2 separate regions of the Homo sapiens genome follow, and region 2 is linked to region 1. Evidence: promoter capture Hi-C in 16 types of primary human blood cells and fetal thymus (Javierre and others, 2016). All regions are on one chromosome and are shown on one strand. Each heading gives the region's core, a stretch centred on a gene start or on the middle of the fragment in contact. The rest is flanking DNA. Distances are from core to core; before and after follow the strand shown.

What was found. The method cuts DNA at HindIII sites, captures the fragments that hold promoters and counts their contacts. A CHiCAGO score of 5 or more calls a contact.
Region 2: a fragment that was not itself captured here is called in contact with the fragment with the promoter of FGG in region 1 in 2 of 17 cell types (naive B cells and total B cells); the score reaches 6.8 in naive B cells.

The regions. Positions count from the first base shown.
Region 1 is chr4:154,609,627-154,615,385 of GRCh38, reverse strand. It overlaps FGG (fibrinogen gamma chain), which reads left to right and starts at 2,730. Exons shown (of 9, transcript NM_021870.3): 1 at 2,730-2,854; 2 at 2,951-2,995; 3 at 3,185-3,368; 4 at 3,488-3,581; 5 at 5,189-5,319; 6 at 5,623-5,756. The coding sequence starts at 2,777. RefSeq lists an enhancer at 1,516-2,688. The HindIII fragment of the contact is 2,366 bases long and covers 1,777-4,142 here.
Region 2 is chr4:154,327,740-154,333,366 of GRCh38, reverse strand. It overlaps DCHS2 (dachsous cadherin-related 2), which reads left to right. Exons shown (of 20, transcript NM_001358235.2): 5 at 1-889; 6 at 3,657-3,844; 7 at 5,175-5,274. Among named protein-coding and RNA genes, the nearest start is that of DCHS2, 160 kb to the left of the region's middle. The HindIII fragment of the contact is 588 bases long and covers 2,980-3,567 here.

The sequences.
Region 1 (5,759 bases), core at 1,481-3,980:
GACCGCTAAATCACTGTTGACCATTTTTTTTTCTCAGAGAGCAAGCATCTTGTCTTATATGATTTGGATTTAGGACTTGAGATTGTAGTAAAAGGAAATTATTTTCTCTAAAATTGTGATAACACATCTGGATTCCAATATAAGTCAGTTAAAAGCCTGTAATACAAGTATTCCACTTCTAAAATGGGATAAGATAGAATTTCTAATGTCCTCAATTTAAATGTTTATCAACTTTGTGAATATTATATATCTTAACACAACCAATGAAACTTTATGACATTAAGGAGCTCAGAACCCAACCTGTGGCTGCATGAATTGTTACCCTAAATTCAACAAACTAATATTTTATGGTCTTCAGCAAAAAGAACCACAAAGACATGCTCTGTCTAAACACACTTTGCTTGAACATTCTTACAGATAGGAAGTATACCTTCTCACAAGGCATGCAATCCATTTATATTATCATTTGATCTTTGATTGGTAAAATCAATTTGGATAGAATTTCCTAAACTAAACGACCAGGTGCTTTCTTCTCTGGGGAATCTTACAGAAGGAGACTGCAGTTAGTTGCAACAGATTTTTTATTAAAGAGAATTTCTGTAGCTAGAACAACAAAGCTTGTTCCCTGTGAACCAAATCTACCAATAATAGCTCTATTAAAAGAGTTTCCTATTTACATAGATTTTATACCAAATATATTTGGTAATTCATAAACCTTACAAACATTTACTTAACACTTACCATGAATTGGGTAATGTGCTCAACACATTATCCCACTAAATCTTAGTAATAGCCCTATTAAGTAAATACCATATCATAAGTATTATCTCTCTTTTACTGACATGGATAATGGAACTCAAGGAGATTGAGTAACTTGTACTGAATCACACAGCCAGTAAATTGTAAAGATGGGACTCAAACCTAGGGAGATGGACTCCAGAGCCTTAACAACTATTTATTTATACATTCTCCAATTGAGCTACACACTTCTTGAAGGCAAAGGCAATGCCTGAGTCACCTTTCATGTTCAAATCATATTAAAAAGTTAGCAAGATGTAATTATCAGTGTACTATGTAAATCTTTGTGAATGATCAATAATTACATATTTTCATTATATATATTTTAGTAGATAATATTTATATACATTCAACATTCTAAATATAGAAAGTTTACAGAGAAAAATAAAGCCTTTTTTTCCAATCCTGTCCTCCACCTCTGCATCCCATTCTTCTTCACAGAGGCAACTGATTCAAGTCATTACATAGTTATTGAGTGTTAACTACAACTATGTTAAGTACAGCTATATATGTTAGATGCCGTAGCCACAGAAATCAGTTTACAATCTAATGCAGTGGATACAGCATGTATACATATAATATAAGGTTGCTACAAATGCTATCTGAGGTAGAGCTGTTTGAAAGAATACTAATACTTAAATGTTTAATTCAACTGACTTGATTGACAACTGATTAGCTGAGTGGAAAAGATGGATGAGAAAGATTGTGAGACTTAATTGGCTGGTGGTATGGTGATATGATTGACAATAACTGCTAAGTCAGAGAGGGATATATTAAGGAGGAGAAGAAAAGCAACAAATCTGGTTTTGATGTGTTCACTTTGTTATAATTATTGATTATTTACTGAATATGAATATTTATCTTTGTTTTTGAGTCAATAAATATACCTTTGTAAAGACAGAATTAAAGTATTAGTATTTCTTTCAAACTGGAGGCATTTCTCCCACTAACATATTTCATCAAAACTTATAATAAGCTTGGTTCCAGAGGAAGAAATGAGGGATAACCAAAAATAGAGACATTAATAATAGTGTAACGCCCAGTGATAAATCTCAATAGGCAGTGATGACAGACATGTTTTCCCAAACACAAGGATGCTGTAAGGGCCAAACAGAAATGATGGCCCCTCCCCAGCACCTCATTTTGCCCCTTCCTTCAGCTATGCCTCTACTCTCCTTAGATACAAGGGAGGTGGATTTTTCTCTTCTCTGAGATAGCTTGATGGAACCACAGGAACAATGAAGTGGGCTCCTGGCTCTTTTCTCTGTGGCAGATGGGGTGCCATGCCCACCTTCAGACAAAGGGAAGATTGAGCTCAAAAGCTCCCTGAGAAGTGAGAGCCTATGAACATGGTTGACACAGAGGGACAGGAATGTATTTCCAGGGTCATTCATTCCTGGGAATAGTGAACTGGGACATGGGGGAAGTCAGTCTCCTCCTGCCACAGCCACAGATTAAAAATAATAATGTTAACTGATCCCTAGGCTAAAATAATAGTGTTAACTGATCCCTAAGCTAAGAAAGTTCTTTTGGTAATTCAGGTGATGGCAGCAGGACCCATCTTAAGGATAGACTAGGTTTGCTTAGTTCGAGGTCATATCTGTTTGCTCTCAGCCATGTACTGGAAGAAGTTGCATCACACAGCCTCCAGGACTGCCCTCCTCCTCACAGCAATGGATAATGCTTCACTAGCCTTTGCAGATAATTTTGGATCAGAGAAAAAACCTTGAGCTGGGCCAAAAAGGAGGAGCTTCAACCTGTGTGCAAAATCTGGGAACCTGACAGTATAGGTTGGGGGCCAGGATGAGGAAAAAGGAACGGGAAAGACCTGCCCACCCTTCTGGTAAGGAGGCCCCGTGATCAGCTCCAGCCATTTGCAGTCCTGGCTATCCCAGGAGCTTACATAAAGGGACAATTGGAGCCTGAGAGGTGACAGTGCTGACACTACAAGGCTCGGAGCTCCGGGCACTCAGACATCATGAGTTGGTCCTTGCACCCCCGGAATTTAATTCTCTACTTCTATGCTCTTTTATTTCTCTCTTCAACATGTGTAGCAGTAAGTGTGCTCTTCACAAAACGTTGTTTAAAATGGAAAGCTGGAAAATAAAACAGATAATAAACTAGTGAAATTTCTGTATTTTTTCTCTTTTAGTATGTTGCTACCAGAGACAACTGCTGCATCTTAGATGAAAGATTCGTAAGTAGTTTTTATGTTTCTCCCTTTGTGTGTGAACTGGAGAGGGGCAGAGGAATAGAAATAATTCCCTCATAAATATCATCTGGCACTTGTAACTTTTTAAAAACATAGTCTAGGTTTTACCTATTTTTCTTAATAGATTTTAAGAGTAGCATCTGTCTACATTTTTAATCACTGTTATATTTTCAGGGTAGTTATTGTCCAACTACCTGTGGCATTGCAGATTTCCTGTCTACTTATCAAACCAAAGTAGACAAGGATCTACAGTCTTTGGAAGACATCTTACATCAAGTTGAAAACAAAACATCAGAAGTCAAACAGCTGATAAAAGCAATCCAACTCACTTATAATCCTGATGAATCATCAAAACCAAGTGAGAAAATAAAGACTACTGACCAAAAAATAATAATAATAATCTGTGAAGTTCTTTTGCTGTTGTTTTAGTTGTTCTATTTGCTTAAGGATTTTTATGTCTCTGATCCTATATTACAGATATGATAGACGCTGCTACTTTGAAGTCCAGGAAAATGTTAGAAGAAATTATGAAATATGAAGCATCGATTTTAACACATGACTCAAGTATTCGGTAAGGATTTTTGTTTTAATTTGCTCTGCAAGACTGATTTAGTTTTTATTTAATATTCTATACTTGAGTGAAAGTAATTTTTAATGTGTTTTCCCCATTTATAATATCCCAGTGACATTATGCCTGATTATGTTGAGCATAGTAGAGATAGAAGTTTTTAGTGCAATATAAATTATACTGGGTTATAATTGCTTATTAATAATCACATTGAAGAAAGATGTTCTAGATGTCTTCAAATGCTAGTTTGACCATATTTATCAAAAATTTTTTCCCCATCCCCCATTTATCTTACAACATAAAATCAATCTCATAGGAATTTGGGTGTTGAAAATAAAATCCTCTTTATAAAAATGCTGACAAATTGGTGGTTAAAAAAATTAGCAAGCAGAGGCATAGTAAGGATTTTGGCTCCTAAAGTAAATTATATTGAATGTGGAGCAGGAAGAAACATGTCTTGAGAGACTAAGTGTGGCAAATATTGCAAAGCTCATATTGATCATTGCAGAATGAACCTGCATAGTCTCTTCCCTTCATTTGGAAGTGAATGTCTCTGTTAAAGCTTCTCAGGGACTCATAAACTTTCTGAACATAAGGTCTCAGATACAGTTTTAATATTTTTCCCCAATTTTTTTTTCTGAATTTTTCTCAAAGCAGCTTGAGAAATTGAGATAAATAGTAGCTAGGGAGAAGTGGCCCAGGAAAGATTTCTCCTCTTTTTGCTATCAGAGGGCCCTTGTTATTATTGTTATTATTATTACTTGCATTATTATTGTCCATCATTGAAGTTGAAGGAGGTTATTGTACAGAAATTGCCTAAGACAAGGTAGAGGGAAAACGTGGACAAATAGTTTGTCTACCCTTTTTTACTTCAAAGAAAGAACGGTTTATGCATTGTAGACAGTTTTCTATCATTTTTGGATATTTGCAAGCCACCCTGTAAGTAACTACAAAAGGAGGGTTTTTACTTCCCCCAGTCCATTCCCAAAGCTATGTAACCAGAAGCATTAAAGAAGAAAGGGGAAGTATCTGTTGTTTTATTTTACATACAATAACGTTCCAGATCATGTCCCTGTGTAAGTTATATTTTAGATTGAAGCTTATATGTATAGCCTCAGTAGATCCACAAGTGAAAGGTATACTCCTTCAGCACATGTGAATTACTGAACTGAGCTTTTCCTGCTTCTAAAGCATCAGGGGGTGTTCCTATTAACCAGTCCCGCCACTCTTGCAGGTTGCTATCTGCTGTCCCTTATGCATAAAGTAAAAAGCAAAATGTCAATGACATTTGCTTATTGACAAGGACTTTGTTATTTGTGTTGGGAGTTGAGACAATATGCCCCATTCTAAGTAAAAAGATTCAGGTCCACATTGTATTCCTGTTTTAATTGATTTTTTGATTTGTTTTTCTTTTTCAAAAAGTTTATAATTTTAATTCATGTTAATTTAGTAATATAATTTTACATTTTCCTCAAGAATGGAATAATTTATCAGAAAGCACTTCTTAAGAAAATACTTAGCAGTTTCCAAAGAAAATATAAAATTACTCTTCTGAAAGGAATACTTATTTTTGTCTTCTTATTTTTGTTATCTTATGTTTCTGTTTGTAGATATTTGCAGGAAATATATAATTCAAATAATCAAAAGATTGTTAACCTGAAAGAGAAGGTAGCCCAGCTTGAAGCACAGTGCCAGGAACCTTGCAAAGACACGGTGCAAATCCATGATATCACTGGGAAAGGTAACTGATGAAGGTTATATTGGGATTAGGTTCATCAAAGTAAGTAATGTAAAGGAGAAAGTATGTACTGGAAAGTATAGGAATAGTTTAGAAAGTGGCTACCCATTAAGTCTAAGAATTTCAGTTGTCTAGACCTTTCTTGAATAGCTAAAAAAAACAGTTTAAAAGGAATGCTGATGTGAAAAGTAAGAAAATTATTCTTGGAAAATGAATAGTTTACTACATGTTAAAAGCTATTTTTCAAGGCTGGCACAGTCTTACCTGCATTTCAAACCACAGTAAAAGTCGATTCTCCTTCTCTAGATTGTCAAGACATTGCCAATAAGGGAGCTAAACAGAGCGGGCTTTACTTTATTAAACCTCTGAAAGCTAACCAGCAATTCTTAGTCTACTGTGAAATCGATGGGTCTGGAAATGGATGGACTGTGTTTCAGAAGGTA
Region 2 (5,627 bases), core at 2,024-4,523, 280 kb after region 1:
CTCACGGTGCAGGCGCAGCTCGGCAGCGCCCCAGCCTGCAGCAGCACCGAGGTCAACATAACAGTCATGGATGTCAATGACAACCACCCAGCGTTCCTCAGGACCTCGGATGAGATTAGAATATCCCAGACCACGCCCCCTGGCACAGCCTTGTACCTCGCACGTGCGGAAGACAGAGACAGTGGGCGGAACGGACTCATCCGGTACTCCATCGCCAGCCCGCAGCCAGGCGTCTTTGCCATCGACAGAGCCCTGGGGGTGCTGTTCCTCAACGGCAGCCTGGGCGCGGGCGAGCAGCGGGAGCTCACGCTGACTCTCAGGGCCGAGGACCAAGGCGTGCATCCTCAGGCAGCCCTGCTGGTGCTGACAGTCGTTATCGAGAAACGCGAACACAGCCCATCCTGGACTTTCGAACATTTGGTCTATCAAGTGGAAGTCAGTGAGTCTCTCTCACCGATGACACAAATGCTGCAAACACAGGCGCACCCACTTGGCCCCCAGCGTGCAGCCTCGCCTCTTAGGTACTCGCTGGAACCCAGCGTAGACTCTGCTATGTTTGGAATCCGCCCTTACACGGGCTGGATTTATTTGCGGCGACAGTTTGACTATGAATCCACCCAAACATATAATTTTAGAGTGTTTGCTTGGATCCCCGAGGACGGATTCTTGCAAAATGTGAGCACTACAGTCATTGTTCGTGTCTGGGATGAGAATGACAATTCCCCCACCTTCTTGCATGATGTGTTGTTTTTGAAAGTCGAAGAGAGCCCTGTTCCCCAAGGGGTAATAGGCAAAATTACAGCTATTGACATGGACTCTGGAAAGAATGGACAGCTATTATATTTCCTTTTGTCTGATGGAAAATTCTTCAAGATGAATCCTAATACAGGTAGCACTTCATAGTTTCCACCTATTCCTTTAAAATGAGGGTTCAGTACTATCACACTCGTCTTTAAGTAAAAATAAAAATAAAAAATTAAACAAAATCAGGATTGAGAAAACTCAAGTCGTTAGGTATAGCATTAGTGCATACATGCAATTGAAATAATGGTTTTTAATAAATAAGGTATTCGATTACTCTATTGTGAGGTCTTAAAAATGGATTAAAAATTGAATAGAGTTTCACCCATAATAATTCATACTTTCCCTGCATCACATCCCCATCTTGCCAATATATGGTTCTTTTTCTGAACTAGAGGTATAGTCAGAACTGGATTGAATATATCCTTGTGTAAAGGCTAATTTTTTCAACAACCATCCTTTTCCATTTGTAGACATTTAAAAAACGTCAAAACGTATTTTGTGAAATATAAATATCATCAATGTAAAGCTAGACATCAATTCATTGGTTAAGATTTCAAAATCACTCTAAGAATATATATCCTTTTTCTCATTCTGACAGGGGAACCAGAGGAAAAGGGGGAATAATTACAGTGAAATTTTTAAAGTCTGAATTAAGAAATTAAAGATTAAAAGTCACTATATTTTAAAATTTATGTTGTATAAGTTTACGGGGAGTTTATTTAATCCTTACAATGAAACATATCTATACTGCAAATACATACCCGGGAAAACTGAAACTCAGATAGCTCGAGTAGTACACCCAAAGTCATGGAGCTGGTAAGATGAGAAGAAGCTCCCTTTTTGTGCAGGTCCAGCAGGCACCATCTATGTCATAACCTGGGCAGATGGTGCTGCTGCCTTTAGTGGGACAGACTTTGCATTCAGTTCTGATGAACTTCAAGCCTTTGTTCTCAAGTCTCTGTTCTGTGAATTAGGAGAAGGTGACCTTTCACAGCAGATGGAGGGTTTTCACAGGGCACATGGCTTGCCAAGAAGGTTGCAAGCTGCCTTTCCACTCTCATTCACTCCCTAAACTGAGACTCCTGCTGCAAGGGCACAAACCATACAGCTATATGGGATGACCCTGCTTGCACTTTACTTCCATATGGCTAGTTTTCAAGGTCTTCTATTTCACTTGTTTTTTTCTTTAAAATAAGCAAACTACAGTTGATTCCCCCGTGATCTTCCCTCCCCTACAAGAAAACGAGGTGTCCATTCCTAATTTCATTGTATGGCTTTAAGCAAGTAGCTTAAGCTCAGAGCTGCTTCCTTACCATGAATACAGGAGACAATTCCTGACACGCCCTGTGCCATGCTTTGAGGGGTAAAGAGCTAAAGAATATGAAAGGGCTTGGAACACTACGTGCTTGTAAACTGTTCCTCCTCCCAAGGACAGCATGGCAAGGCAGGGTGGAGGGTGTCCTTCAGAGCCTGGGAGACACACCCCCTTTTCATCCAGTTCTCTGGACAGTCCTACAAGTGACCAGGACTTGAGCTCCTGTGGAACCATATCCTGGTGTCGCCCATCCCCAGCTGCAGCCTGAGCTGCACAGTCTTTTACATCCCCGACCTCCAAGGCTGCTGCTTATCCATCAGATTTGCTTTATGAATAAAAATCTGTTTGCCATTCAGAAGTTAAGGTCTTCGGAGGAGAATTATAGTTTGGAATTTAAAAAAAGCAATTGTGTGTATGATCTATATTAAAACCACCGAGTAAACACTATAAATATAGTTTATATATTAACAGTAAACAGTTATCATAAACACTGCATTTAAGCTCACCAATTCAGCAACTTACCTAAATGAGAATTTTCATTTTTGTTCCCTGTTTCCACTTTTTTTTAATGCAATGCTATTTTATTTGTATTAAGAGGAAAAAAGTTTTTAGCCACAGAAATGTTTGTCGGTAGCTGCTTCATGCTCACATTCTCACAGGTACATTTTTTTTTCATAAATGGTGAGGAAATCAATGCTTGGCAGAGCTCTGACAGGCTATTGGACCGAGTGCTTGTCTTCCCAAGGTCCCTGGCAATAGGAAGAGGCACTTAGATGTTATGCCTGGGTCTGCATGGCTGACACATGAGGAAAGTTACTGAAGGTAGTATAGCTCTAGGCAGAAATATTTGAAATAAAGCTTCTAAAGCATTAAGAGTTTTTATAGGAAGTCACTATCCACTGCTACATGTATATTTTGTGAGATAAAAAACAAATACTTGTGTGCATAAAACAAGAACTATTGCCTAAGGGATATTATTTGATTTCCAGAAAGGTATTTAGCCATTATGTTAAAGTAGTAATAACAGCTTCCACTTGTGTCGTCATGTATAGCTTGCACAATACTTTTAAATGTGTGATTACATTTCTTCCTGACAGCAGTCCCAGGCTCAGAGGAGTCATTCCATGTCTGAGATGGGGAAACTGGGGCCAAAGCCAGAACCTGTGTCAGAGCTCACATGCTTTCCATCATTCTGTATAGCAGCATAAAGAGGGATAAGCAGCAGTTTTAAATCTTCCAAATCATTACTAAGTTCCCACGGAGTTTTATCATTTTTATGAATTCATTGTTTATTAGTTCAAATGATCGATGGATGATAATTTGAAATACAAAGAATAACAAATTTAAAGTGACATTTTCAGGAGCAACTTGAGAAAATTTTTTCAACAGTACCATAGAGCCAAACTACTATGTAGATGGTCTTAGAAGTCGCATATTTGCTCAAAGCTTTGTACTTGGTTTTCCTTCTGGAAATGGTTCTGGCCCTGGTGCGCCTGGTACACAGTGCCTGTGTCTTGTTCTGCTCTGTACTCTGCAGGAGAGTTAATCAATTGGGTGGCACTGGATCGTGAGCACCGGGGGCACCATGAGATGACTGTGCTAGTGACAGACCGCGGCTCCCCACCACGAAACGCCACCATGGCGGTTTACGTCTCAGTTACTGACATCAATGATAACAGGCCCTTCTTCCCCCAGTGTCTCCCTGGAAAGGAGTTACACGTGAAGGTTTGTGAAGAAACCTTGCAATGAATTTGTAATATCTTAAGTCATTTGTTTTGAGCACCATCTTGTGGTAAAACCTGTGAATTTATCACATCAGTCTTGGTGTGGCAAAGCATACTTTTTCTAGAAGACCTAGATACTGTGCACATGTTATTTTAAAAGAAAATTTTTAAAAAGTAAATGAATATATGTGCTCTTTGGCATTGTACCTCCAGTTGCTTTATAACAATAAGTTTAGTTCAGCCCCTTGTACACAAACTGAATGGTGCTTCAGGTTAATGCTCAGACATGGCTTGTTTTTCCAGTAGTTTACGTGCATCTCTTTGTGCAGAGCTTCTTAACGGCAATTGATACATGTCTCTAAGATAGTTACTTAAGGGTAGGGGAACAACCTGTAGCTCTAAAGTGGGTAGGTGGAAATCCAGAGATAGTAAAAGTTGATCCTTTTGATCACATGCACCAACTGGCAATTATATTTATATTATCTCATCTTTTTCATTTGTCTTTTTGTATGTTGTATAATATACATAATAAATTAGAATATCAGTTCATTCACATAATTAATAAATATGTTTGGACCTACTAATAATTTTTTTAGTGGATGGGTTATAATAATGAAAAGTTTAGAAGCTACTGTTCCAGAACAATTGAATTAGACATTCAAATTGTGCTCAAATATACATATTGAACAACTCAACAAAAGTATTGAGGAACTCATAACTTTAAACTGATCTGAATCCAGCTTTAAAGAAAAATTCTAACAAAGCAAAATATTATTATATCATCATTACACTTTTTAATCATATCATTAAAATGTCCTGTGGCTTAATTGGGCAGTTGGACTCTAAACATGTAGTTGAACTTCACATGTGCATTTCAACATTGCAGGACAGCTCCTGATAATTGGTATGTCCTGCATGAGTTTTGTTTTCTGAATTAAAGGTTCATACTTATTTTAAGCATATTTTAAGCCATAGCAACCACCTTTCAAAAAATGTCCTAAGAGATGATGAATGAGAATATGCTAGAAATCTTAAAATACACCAAAAATCTAAGATTGTTTAGCAAGTTCAATTTCTTTTTCTTTTGGTCAGAATTAGTTCAGATGCCTCAGATAATTCATTCTAATTGAATAAAAGATTTAATATGTAAGGAGGATTCTTTTCATGGACATACACCCATATAACTTTTACATGGTATGCATTTGAATTATATGTGGATTTTAAGATAGTTTAAAATGTTTAGTATAATGTATTCATTCATTTAAAGGTCCACTGATATTTCTTTTTAAACTTTTGCTGACTCATTTGTAAGCTGTTTGTTTTAATGGCAGGTTCTGGAAGGTCAACCAGTAAATATGTTGGTTACAACTGTGTTTGCAAAGGATCCTGATGAAGGAAATAATGCAGAAGTTACATACTCAGTATCTTCAGGTAAAACTTACTGTTCATACGGGATTAAGAACTTTTAGGATTTCTGCTTTCATTTATCAACTATCCCCTTCTGGGAAAAGAAGTTCTATTTTGATTACTTTGAATGCTGTAGTTAGTTTTGAAAAAGCACCAAGTTACAAACAAAATACATTTGCTATTGTCAAGAACTACTTTCAGTTTTTGAAAAGTAATTTAAAGTTTAATAAAAAATCAGAGTAGCTTTTTACGTTCTTAATAGAAACCATTCATCTTTAGTGAGTAATTTGCAATAATGTGAAGTACAAATTTACTTTTATTGATAGGAAAGTGTTAGTTAGGGGATAAGAATTGGTATTAAGTATGACTAAGAGTTC